Regions from separate parts of the Homo sapiens genome. Here region 2 is linked to region 1. Evidence: promoter capture Hi-C in 16 types of primary human blood cells and fetal thymus (Javierre and others, 2016). All regions are on one chromosome and are shown on one strand. Each heading gives the region's core, a stretch centred on a gene start or on the middle of the fragment in contact. The rest is flanking DNA. Distances are from core to core; before and after follow the strand shown. Region 1 overlaps PPP6R2 (protein phosphatase 6 regulatory subunit 2). Region 2 holds the start of MIOX (myo-inositol oxygenase).

Evidence for each region. The method cuts DNA at HindIII sites, captures the fragments that hold promoters and counts their contacts. A CHiCAGO score of 5 or more calls a contact.
Region 2: a contact is called between the fragment with the promoter of MIOX here and a fragment that was not itself captured in region 1, in 7 of 17 cell types (megakaryocytes, fetal thymus, M1 macrophages and 4 more). The highest score is 5.5, in megakaryocytes.

The regions. Positions count from the first base shown.
Region 1 is chr22:50,420,870-50,426,127 of GRCh38, reverse strand. It overlaps PPP6R2 (protein phosphatase 6 regulatory subunit 2), which reads right to left. Exons shown (of 24, transcript NM_001242898.2): 9 at 3,748-3,874; 10 at 2,514-2,666. Among named protein-coding and RNA genes, the nearest start is that of MIR12114, 16 kb to the right of the region's middle. The HindIII fragment of the contact is 5,127 bases long and covers 1-4,871 here.
Region 2 is chr22:50,485,364-50,490,621 of GRCh38, reverse strand. MIOX (myo-inositol oxygenase) reads right to left here and starts at 3,763. Exons shown (of 10, transcript NM_017584.6): 1 at 3,710-3,763; 2 at 3,157-3,237; 3 at 2,880-2,960; 4 at 2,574-2,736; 5 at 2,280-2,347; 6 at 1,473-1,582; 7 at 1,327-1,394; 8 at 1,176-1,225; 9 at 978-1,090; 10 at 1-874. The coding sequence starts at 3,724. The coding sequence ends at 766. ADM2 (adrenomedullin 2) reads right to left here. Exons shown (of 3, transcript NM_001253845.2): 3 at 4,185-5,258. The HindIII fragment of the contact is 4,673 bases long and covers 1-4,204 here.

The DNA.
Region 1 (5,258 bases), core at 1,059-3,558:
TATAAAAATTAGCTGGATGTGGTGGCGCATGCCTGCAGTCTTAGCTACTCAGGAGGCTGAGGTGGGAGGATCACTTGAGCCCAGGAGTTCAAGGTTACAGGAAGCTATGATCACTGTACTGCAAGACCCTACATCTAAAAAAAATTTTTTATGTAAAAAGATAACCCAAAGAAAATATTTGCATATATCTGATAAAGGATTAATATCCAGAATATATATAGAACTTCTAAAACTAAAAAAAAAAAACAAAAAAAAAACTCAATTCAAAAATGGTCAAAGGACTTGAATAGACATTTCTCCAACGAAGCTATTCACATGGCCAAAAAGCACGAGAAGATGCTCGACATCACTTGTCACACGGAGACACTGTTCCACACGCACATCAGATGACGAGCATCAGCCACACGGAGACACCGTTCCACACGCACATCAGATGACGAGCATCAGAAGAAGGAAGACAAGTGTCGGCGGGATGAGGGGGAGGATGAGGAGAAAGGGGAGACTTTGTTGACAGGAAGATAAAATGGTGCAGCCACTGTGGAAAGGTCTGGCCTCAAAACTTAATCATGGAATTGTCACATGACCTGGCCTCATAGGTATTTATCCAGAAGAACTTCTTCTTACTTTCAGAAGAACTGAAAGTAAGGACTCAAACAGGTATTTGTACACCCACATATACAGCAGTGTTATTCACAATAGCCAAGGCTGGAAGCAACCCAAGTCTCCACTGATGGATGGATGAATGGACAGAATGTGGCCCACCCACACAGTAATTTTTCAGCCTTAAAAAGGAAGGAAATTTGGACATACAGTACAATACTGAATGAACCTTGGGCACATAGTGCTAAGTGAAATAAGTCAGTCACAAAAAGATAATACTTTATGATTCCACTCATAAACTGTACCTAGAATAGTCAAATTCAGAGACAAAGACAATGGTGGTTGCCAGAGACTGTGGAGAGGGAGAATGAATGGGGAGTTAGTGTTTAACGGAGAGAGTTTCTGTTTGGGAAAATGAAAAACTTCTAGATGTGAATAATGGTAATGGCTATACAAGATTGTGAATGCACTGAGTGACACACCTTAAAATAGTTAAAACAGCCAAGTTTATGTTATGATATTTTACCACAGTAAATATAAAAGAGAGGAAGAAAGTGGAAGACAGAATTCTTTTGAAGAAGGAAAAGGGGCTGGGTGCAGTGGCTCAAGCCTGTAATCCCAGCACTTTGGGAGGCCAAGGCGGGTGGATCACGAGGTCAGGAGTTTGAGACCATCCTGGCCAACACGGTGAAACCCCGTCTCTACTAAAAATACAAAAAAAAATTAGCTGGGCATGGTGGCGCATGCCTGTAATCTCAGCTACTCGGGAGGCTGAGGCAGGAAAATCGCTTGAACCAGGGAGTCGGAGATTGCAGTGAGCCAAGGTCCCGCCACTGCACTCCAGCCTGGCGACAGAGAGAGACTCCATCTCAAAAAAAAAAAAAAAAAAAAAAAGAAGAAGAGGGAAAAGGAAAGTAGGTCTCTTTTGTAATTGCTTCCCTGATGCAGACTGGGATCTCACAGCCAAAGCAGTGCCCAGAACTCATACACGCTGACAGACGTTCCACACGCGGACAGACCTTCCACACGCTGACAGACGTTCCACACGCGGACGGACCTTCCACACGCTGACAGACGTTCCACACGCGGACGGACCTTCCACACGCGGACGGACCTTCCACACACTGACGGACCTTCCACACGCGGACGGACCTTCCACACGCGGACGGACCTTCCACACGCGGACAGACCTTCCACACGCTGACAGAACTGAGCCAGACAGCACTTCGAGCCCAGTTCTGGGACTAAGATTGCAGGGAGATTCCAGCAGAGCCCCAGAGCCAGGCAGAAGACGGGGGCTGCGTCTGCCAACAGGACCCACTAGGGCAGTGCCCTTCGTTCTCAGGGGAGCAGCCTCATGCTCTCCGCAGAGGAGCCCGCCACCCACAGCCAGGGCTGCTCACTGGCACTACTTGCCAGCACCGCCTGCCCCTTCCTCTCCTCAGCCACCTGGAGCATCATGCAAGCCGTCTGCGGGATGGAGAGGCACTGCCCGCTGGCTTTGACAAAAACTGCCAGGTTGGCCTTCTACTGTGGACGACAGGAGCTTCTCTTTTAGCCATTTTATACCTAATAACCACCGTGTAAGTTCTATGTTGTTCAGTCAGAACATGAGAAAGGAGGTAGACGTGTCACTCTATTCCATCAAACCGGGTTAGAAATCCGCCTTCTGCTTTCAGGGCAATTCTACGGTAGACTCGTCACTTCCCATGAGCCTGCAGCTGAGACACACCCCACTGCTGCTCTGTGCCCCGCCAGAGACCTGTAGTCCAGCCTTGGGACTTGGGACTGGAACCTCCCCGTGGCAGAGCTTTGTCCAAATGCTGGGGCCCTGCTCTGCTGCTCCTGACAAGTCCACAGGCCATGCCCGGCACACTCACAGACATGCAGGGCTGGCTGAGGGGCCCACTTACCAGCAGTAAGTCCATCGTGTTGAGCCGGCAGAGCTCCTGGTTGATGCTGGGTGTGTTTGTGTGCAGCAGTGCTGCCATGAGGCGGGCGCCATGCAGACGGGCATTCCCCAGGGGCTCCTCCAGCACACCAATGGTGGTCAGGATCGCTTTCTTCTGCAAACACAGAAGGCACCACCCAGTTAGGCCCTGTGAGCAGTGAGGCCACTGCTGGAGTCTCTGGGCTCATGCCCATCACTCTAGGCTGGGACCCAGCCTGGGGTAGCGAGGTATGTGGTGGGGGTTCCTCAGGGAGGGCCGTCTGCCAGAAGAAATGAAGGCATCAATGGGGTGAAGAGCCTGCTGCTCCCCTCAGGGCTTCAGAGAGTGCTCCCAGGATGCTCACGGGCACTCCAGTCTGAGCCTGCAGGGCCAGAGAGCCGTGCACCTCAGCGGGTGAGATGTCCAAGATGGGGCCAGCAGTACCGGTCTAAGGCCAGAGCCCTTGGCACGATGCCTCACTGAGGATGCCCAGTGGGGGTCCCTCTGCGGCCACAATCTCAGAACACCAAGCTAACAAGTGTCCCATGAACACACTTTGGGGACACTGACGGGAATGCCTCCTCCGATGGACCGCGGTCTTTTCTGATCCCCCACACTCAGCCTACTGCACCTACCTTCTCTTCACTGAAACCTCCAGCTGACAAAACAGAATCTTGGCCCCCACAGAGCTCGCTAGTGGGACAGGTGGATCTTACCAAGGTGGCGAGTGAGAGGAACTGAGCTATAGGTCAGGAGGGTGCTATGCAGCAGGGGTCGGGTTGTGTCTGGGGAGGGTGAGACGGGATGGGGAGTTGCCTGGCTGGCAGTCTGAACCAGGAGGAGCCTTTGTGTGCCTCACCCCCCTCAACATGCTGCTGAGCAGGGCAAAGGGCCTCCCCTGCCACCCCCTGGTCCCCTCTCAGGAGCCGAGCACCCCTTAGCTAGGTGCCCCCAACTTGGAGGCCAGGCTTATGGTGACCTCGGGGTCATTTGCAGAGGCAGAGATGAGCATTTGCAGATCTGGGAGGGGCAGTCCTGAAAATGTGTTTTGGCACCTGCCCGGTGCTTCTCAAGTGGGGGTGTGGGAATGGCCGTCTTAGAACACATTCACTCCACACTCTGCTACCTATGGGACAAGCTGTGGCTTCTCCTCCCTGCAAATCAACCTCTCCTGCGACGCCTCCAAAGGCACTCAGCAGTCGCCACGGCCATTTACCTTGGGCGGGTTGAGCAGGAGCTGGTGGAAGTCCTTCAGCCGAGGCTCGATGCCGTGTAGTACGCTGCTGCTGACAGCGTATGACCTTTCCAGTCCCTGAGAAAAGGAGTCCACCAAGCCCTCTGTCCTGTGGATGAGGAAAGCAGATGGAGACCGGGGACACCAGGACCCTGTCCAACCTCACCAGCAACTCAGTGCACCCGCTTCTTCCAGAAAGAGCCCTTTTAACTTTCCCAAAAAGAAACCCTAGAGCAGTGCAGCTACCCAGCGTCTCCACACGTGATCTGGTGACTGGTACAGGCAGAAGAGAAAGGTACTAAAGACCTTCAGGCAGATGCTTGCTTGCGACATCCGAGAATATGGAGGCAGGGCAAGTGACACAACACAGGACTCACTGGCCCTAGCACCAGTTAGAGGTCCTGCTCTGTCCCACTTTTAAAACCTTCACTGCTATCCCTGTCTCTTTCACTGTTCCTGTGTCGACTTTTATTTTTATTTATTTTTATTTTTTTTGAGCCAGAGTCTCGCTCTGTCACCCAGGCTGGAGTGCGATGGTGCGATCTTAGCTCACTGCAACCTCCACCTCCTGGGTTCAAGCGATTCTCCTGCCTCAGCCTCCTTTTTGTATTTTTAGTAGAGACAGGATTTTGCCATGTTGGCCAGGCTGGTCTCGATCACCTGACCTCAGGTGATCCACCCGCCTTGGCCTCCCAAAGTGCTGGGATTACAAGCGTGAGCCACTGCGCCTACCCCCTGTGGTGTTTTCAAGCAAGTCTTCTGAGATATTTATTTAAACACTCTTTCCAGTTGTAAAAGTAATACGTAATCATATATTTTTTAAAGTAATATGCAAAATAATTTTAAAAATCAGAGAGCCAGGTGCAGTGGCTCACACCTATAATCCCAGCACTTTGGGGGGGACAGGTGGGAGGATCGCTTGAGCTCAGGACTCTGAGGCCACGCTGAGATATGATCGTGCTGCTGTACTCCCACGTGGGTGACAGAGCAAGACACTGTCTGAAAATAATAATAATAATAATCACAATAATCTAAGAGAAACAGCTGGCTTATCTCTGTTTTCCTGATTTTTACACAGTCCCCTCTATCACATACAGGGTTAAGCTTGGGCCTCAGAAGTGGCTCAGCTTTCCTGGGTTTATGAAGATTAAAATATCAATATTCCAGTTGCCTAACTAGAGAAAACGGTAACATTATAACACTACTTCTGGTTAATAAACTAACAAATATGTATTAGGTACTACCAGAGACAGACAGAGAGAGAGAGAGAGAGAGAAAGAGAGTCCTAACAACCTCACTATCAAGGTTAAGTCAATTTCTTATCATTTTCTCATTGTTCCTTTTTCTTTCACTTTAAAAAAGCACAGGCTATCAGTGTTGGGGGCTGAATTATGTTCTCCCCAGAACGTGGAAATAAGGGAGCTACGGCCACCTTGGGAGAGTTAGACATCGTCCCAGCCTGTGATGGAACGGAGACGACGGAAACGTCCTGA
Region 2 (5,258 bases), core at 2,514-5,013, 63 kb before region 1:
TTTGAGATGGAATTTCACTCTTGATACCCAGGTTGGAGTGCAGTGGCACAATCTTGACTCACGGCAACCCCTGTCTCCCGGGTTCAAGCGATTCTCCTGCCTTAGCCTCCTGAATAGCTGGGATTACAGGCGCCCACCACCACGCCCGGCTAATTTTTGTATTTTTAGTAGAGACGGGGTTTCACCATGTTGGCCAGGCTGGTCTTGAACCCCTGACCTCAGGTGATCCGCCCACCTCGCCCTCCCAAAGTGCTGGGATTATAGGTGTGAGCCGCTGTGCCCAGCCTGCATTTGTTTTTTGTTGTTTTCTATGAATGTATTATTTTAGCTATTGGGGTATTTTTTAAGGGGACGGAGCCCAGAGGACTTGGTGACTGTTTTGAGCATGTGGGGGTGAGCTGGGTGACTCGTCCCCCAGGCTCTGACACAGGAGCTGGGAGGATGGGCAGATGTTTACCACGGCCAGTGTGGTGGGACACACACACCTGAAAGCCTGGGACTTGGCCTCCACCCTGCTGGCACCATCCCTCGGCCTGGGCCACGCCCTGCTGCAGTAACACCCAGTGGGGCTTCAGAAGCACAACATCCTTCCAGGTCTTTATTGACGCCAGGCACAAGTTGCCGTGAGGGGTGGCGACCCTAAGGGGGTGAGTGGGGTCCCCCACCGAGGTGAACCCTGATGGCGGCTGTTTGCCCAGGGCCAGGCCTCTCCAGGCAGGCGGAGGGCCAGGCCTAGGTCCAGCAGCAGCTTGGGTGGCAGGAGGGTCACCAGCTCAGGATGCCAGGGCAGTACTTGTCAATGAGCCCCTGGTAGTAGGGCCGCAGCTTGTCCACGTCCGGCAGGTCCGGGCACTTGGTGTAGAGGTCGAACTTGCTGCAGCAGGGAGGGGCGGTGAGCCCCGTGAAGAACCCCCAGGCCCCCCACCCAACCCCCTCTTTCACTCCCACAACACCCCTCGGCGGGTAGCGGGGCGTACTTGAACTCCCGCACCCAGGGCAGCATGGCCAGGTCCTGCTGGCTGCACAGCTGCTGGTAGTCGCGGCCCGTGTGCCAGGGGTAGAAGGAGTGGAACCGGATCATGTAGAAAGCCTGCGGGCAAGGCCACCCAGCGGCTCACTTGGGGCTGCAGGACCGGGCCTGGTGGACGGGCTGCGTTGCCCCTCCCCCCACCTACCTCAGGGGGCAGTGAGAACTTGTTAAACTTCATCACCTGGTACATGTACTCTGTGGGGAGAGGGTGTCACCAGCAGGCACTGCCTCTGCCCCACCGCCCCCCACCGTCCCCCACCGCCCCCCACCGCCCCACTGCCCGCCTCTGGCCTCACCATCATGGCCCCAGGACATGAGGACCCTGTCGAGCCCACAGTGGGGCTGATACATCCCGAGCTCTGTGCTGCAGTGAGATACCAGGGTGAGGAGGGCTCAGCAGCCGCCCAGGGAAGGGGGCCCAGCCCTCAGCAGCAGGGAGCACCTGTATCGAGGATCCTGGAGGTCAGGGTTGTCCTGGAAGGTGGAGTCGCAGAAAACCACGGAGGCCTGCGGACGGCATCCGACGGGGAAGGTGTCGCCGACGACAGCCCACTGCAGAGGGACAGGAGGGACGGGAGGCCATGGGGGGAGTGGGGGAAGGTGTCGCCGATGACCACCCACTGCAGAAGGACAGGAGGGACGGGCGGCCATGGGGGGAGTGGGGGAAGGTGTCACCGATGACTGCCCACTGCAGAGGGACAGGAGGGACGGGCGGCCATGGGGGGAGTGGGGGAAGATGTTGCCGATGACTGCCCACTGCAGAGGGACAGGAGGGATGGGAGGGACGGGAGGGACAGGAGGGACGGGAGGGATGGGAGGGACAGGAGGGACAGGAGGGACAGGCAGCCATGGGGGGCCGTGGGGGAAGTGGGGGAAGGTGTCGCCGACGACCGCCCACTGCAGAGTGACAGGAGGGACAGGCGGCCATGGGGGGCCGTGGGGGGAGTGGTGCGGGGAGGCCGTGGGGGGTGCACTGGCCTGTCCCCCAGGTAGTATCCCAGGCCAAGCACCGAGGCCACCAGAGGGACAGGCAGCCGTGGGGGGGGCCGTGGGGGGTGCACTGGCCTGTCCCCCAGGTAGTATCCCAGGCCAAGCACCGAGGCCACCAGAGGGACAGGCAGCCGTCGGGGGGCCGTGGGGGGTGCACTGGCCTGTCCCCCAGGTAGTATCCCAGGCCAAGCACCAAGGCCACTCCACCCCCACCTTGCCTCAACATGCAGCCTCCTCACCCTCCACTTCCAACTCTTACCTGGGGCTCCCCGAACAGGGCCAGGACCTTCCCCAGGTCGTGCAGGAGCCCGACGAGGTGGAACCAGTCTGGGAGGGGGATGGACAGGGCAGGTTGGGGACTGCAGGGGCCAAGGCAGAGGATGAGCAGGTTTGCGGGGCTGAGAGCCAGGAAGGGTCCAGGGCCTGCTCCCCAACCCAGGCAGGGCTGCTGGAGGAGGCCTGGGCCCACTACTGTCCCCTCCCACCCTACAGGCTGCTGCATTCTGCCCCTTGGAGGCAGCACCTGCCCCCCTGCAGCACAGCCAGGGCTCACCCTTGTCTGGGTGGGCCTTCCGGATGCCCTCCGCTGTCTGGAAGGCATGGAAGGAGTTGGGGAAATCTACGTCCGGGTCCGACTCATCCACCAGCCCATCCAGCAGGTCCACGGCCTCCATGACTGTCATTTTCTTGTAGGAGAAGCCCCCAAACTGGGCATGCTGGCGGGGAAGGAGAAGGCAGTGTGGCCCAGGGTCAGCAGGCCCACCACACAGGCCTCTCCATCCCCTCGGCGCCTGGTGGGCTCATGGGGCTGAGGGCAAGGGTCCCTCCGCGTTTGCACGGGGCGGCAGGAAACGCCTACCTTGCTCCTGACGAAGTCCACTGTCTGGTGCGTGTGCATGAGCTTGTAGGTGGTGAAGACACGGTCCAGGAGGGGACCTGACTGCAGGCCGGAGGGTCAGTGGCGCCACCCCCACCCTGCACACGAGGCCCCATGCCTCCCCTCTCCCAGGCAGCCCCACAGGGTGTGATGGGGGTGGGAGTTCCCACAGGGCACCCCCTGGAACTGTGTGAAGGGCAAGTGCTGCTCCCCAGGGTGTGGATGGGGGAGAAGGGGGGCAGGACGGCAAGGTACTCACCGTGTAGTTCCGGAAGCTGGCCTTGTCTTTGGCCACCTCTGGGTCCACATCAGGTCGGTAGACCAGGGAAGGGTCTGGGCCCTGGGTAGGTGGAGGATTGAACCTATTTCACCATCATGTCAGCTCCACGAGGAAGCACAGACATTCCCAGGGTGGCTGCAGACTCCAAGCCTGCCTCTGCTCGAGGGCTGGTGGGTGACACGCGAGGACACAGCCTCTCCCACGCCATCATCCCAGCCCCTGCCCTGGCCTCAGCGAGTCCCAGGAGCTCTCACTCCCAGGTCCTCATCTGCAAAGCGAAAGTCAGCAGACGTCTGCTTCCGGGGTACAGGGGACACCACGCCTGAGCGGCACCCATGGCCACCCTTGAGGGGTGGAAGTGGCTTTGGGAGGAGACTGAGTCCACAGGGAGCCTGGGGGTCGGCAGCCGCTGGCTCTTGCCCAGCTGGACGGAGGAGGAGGGCTGGCCAGTGCCAGCTAGAAGAGGGCGGGAGTGGCTGGCCACCAGGAGAGCAGTCAGCAGAGCCTCTCTGCATGGGGTCTGGGTACTCACCACCGTCACCTTCATCCTGAGAGGGAGCGGCGCTCAGGTGGCAAAGCACAGGCTGGCGAGTGTGTCCTCAGCCAGGCTCCTATATACACCCCAGGTTACATAAGTGTCCGCAGTAATAAATGACCATCCACCCTCCTCCCGGCCTCAGGGAGTTAATGTGTCAGCACAGCAGCAGCCCCCAGCAGTCCCACATCCTCTGGCCCTGACTCAGCCTCACACTCCTGTCCCGAGCCGCTGACCTGCCTAGGGTTATCTGTGGGCCCAGCCTCCCACTTGGGCCCTGGCCTTAGACCCCTCTGTGGGGTCCCACAAGTAGGGGCAGACCCAAGACCCCACCCTCAAGCACACGCCCCCTCTGCACCACCCCTTCCCCGGCTGCCCCACTGGATCTCAGGAGGTGAAAACTTGTCCCCAGGCCCCCCGTGATTCTGGGTGGGGCAGGAGCTTGTTAAGAAAAGATGATTCTGAGGACTTGTTAAAATGGTGAGAAAAGCTTTATTCAAGAGAGTGGTGAGAGGAGCTCACCTCCGAGTTCAACAACCACAGCTGGAGATTGATGGCGTTGGAGGGGTCAGCGGATGGGAAGTTGTTAGGGCGGCCTTCGAGGGTAGGGGGATTCTCACTGGAGTGGCTCAATGAGGATCTTGCAGGAGGCCGGCAGGGTGATGAGATCAAGGGTGGGAGATGAGGAATGGGATCAGATATCGAGGGTGGGTAATTCTCCATAAACTGATTTAGAGGATTCTTGCTAACACCGGGGTCGGCGGGCCCAGCGAGGATGGGGATGGGGTCAGGCCTCGTCGAGGAAAGGACTCAGGGGCACCTGCCTAGAGTTCGGCCACAGAGTGTGTCAGGCTCTGGGAGAGGGGCCTCACGGAGAGTTGGAGCAGGCACGGAACCGCCAACACCCAGGCCGCCAACGCAACTTCCCATGCATGGGCCCTGCAGGCATGGAGGACACCGTGAGAACAAAGTGCCCGCGGCAGAGCTGGCGTCTTGGAGCGTGGCCAGGGAAGTCTGGGAACAGCAGTCGGCTGGGGCAGGAGAGAGGGCAGTGGGGTGCTGGGGCCATACCTAGGGCTGTGAAGATCAGAGTTCTGGGCTTCAGGGGTCAGGCAAGAGGGCTGTGGGCAGCTGACCTGACTCAACAAGATCCTGGCACAGCTGAGCTGAGAAGCAACTGTGAGGAGACCCCAGCGCCCCCCATTTAAACGGCACCTGCCCCACACTCTCCTTCCTTGTCTGACTTCCTGTGGCACTCAGCACTCCCTGCCACTCCACCACCCACTTATTCTACCTTCTACGTTTGTCTCCTTCTATCTCCCCCTAGAATGTCAGCCCCTGGGGGTCAAGGCTGTATCCTCACGTGTCCCAACACGGGTAGGTCACGTGCTCAGCATGCACTGGCCAGAGGGATGCAGACAGGTGCCTGGGAGGAGGCTACGGCCATCGCCCCGAAAGCAGGTGGTGCCTGGGTCAGGAGAAGGTGTCTGGATAGGTTCAGGAGGTGGGACCGGGTGGGATTCAGAGGAAGGTGTGAAGGAAGAGA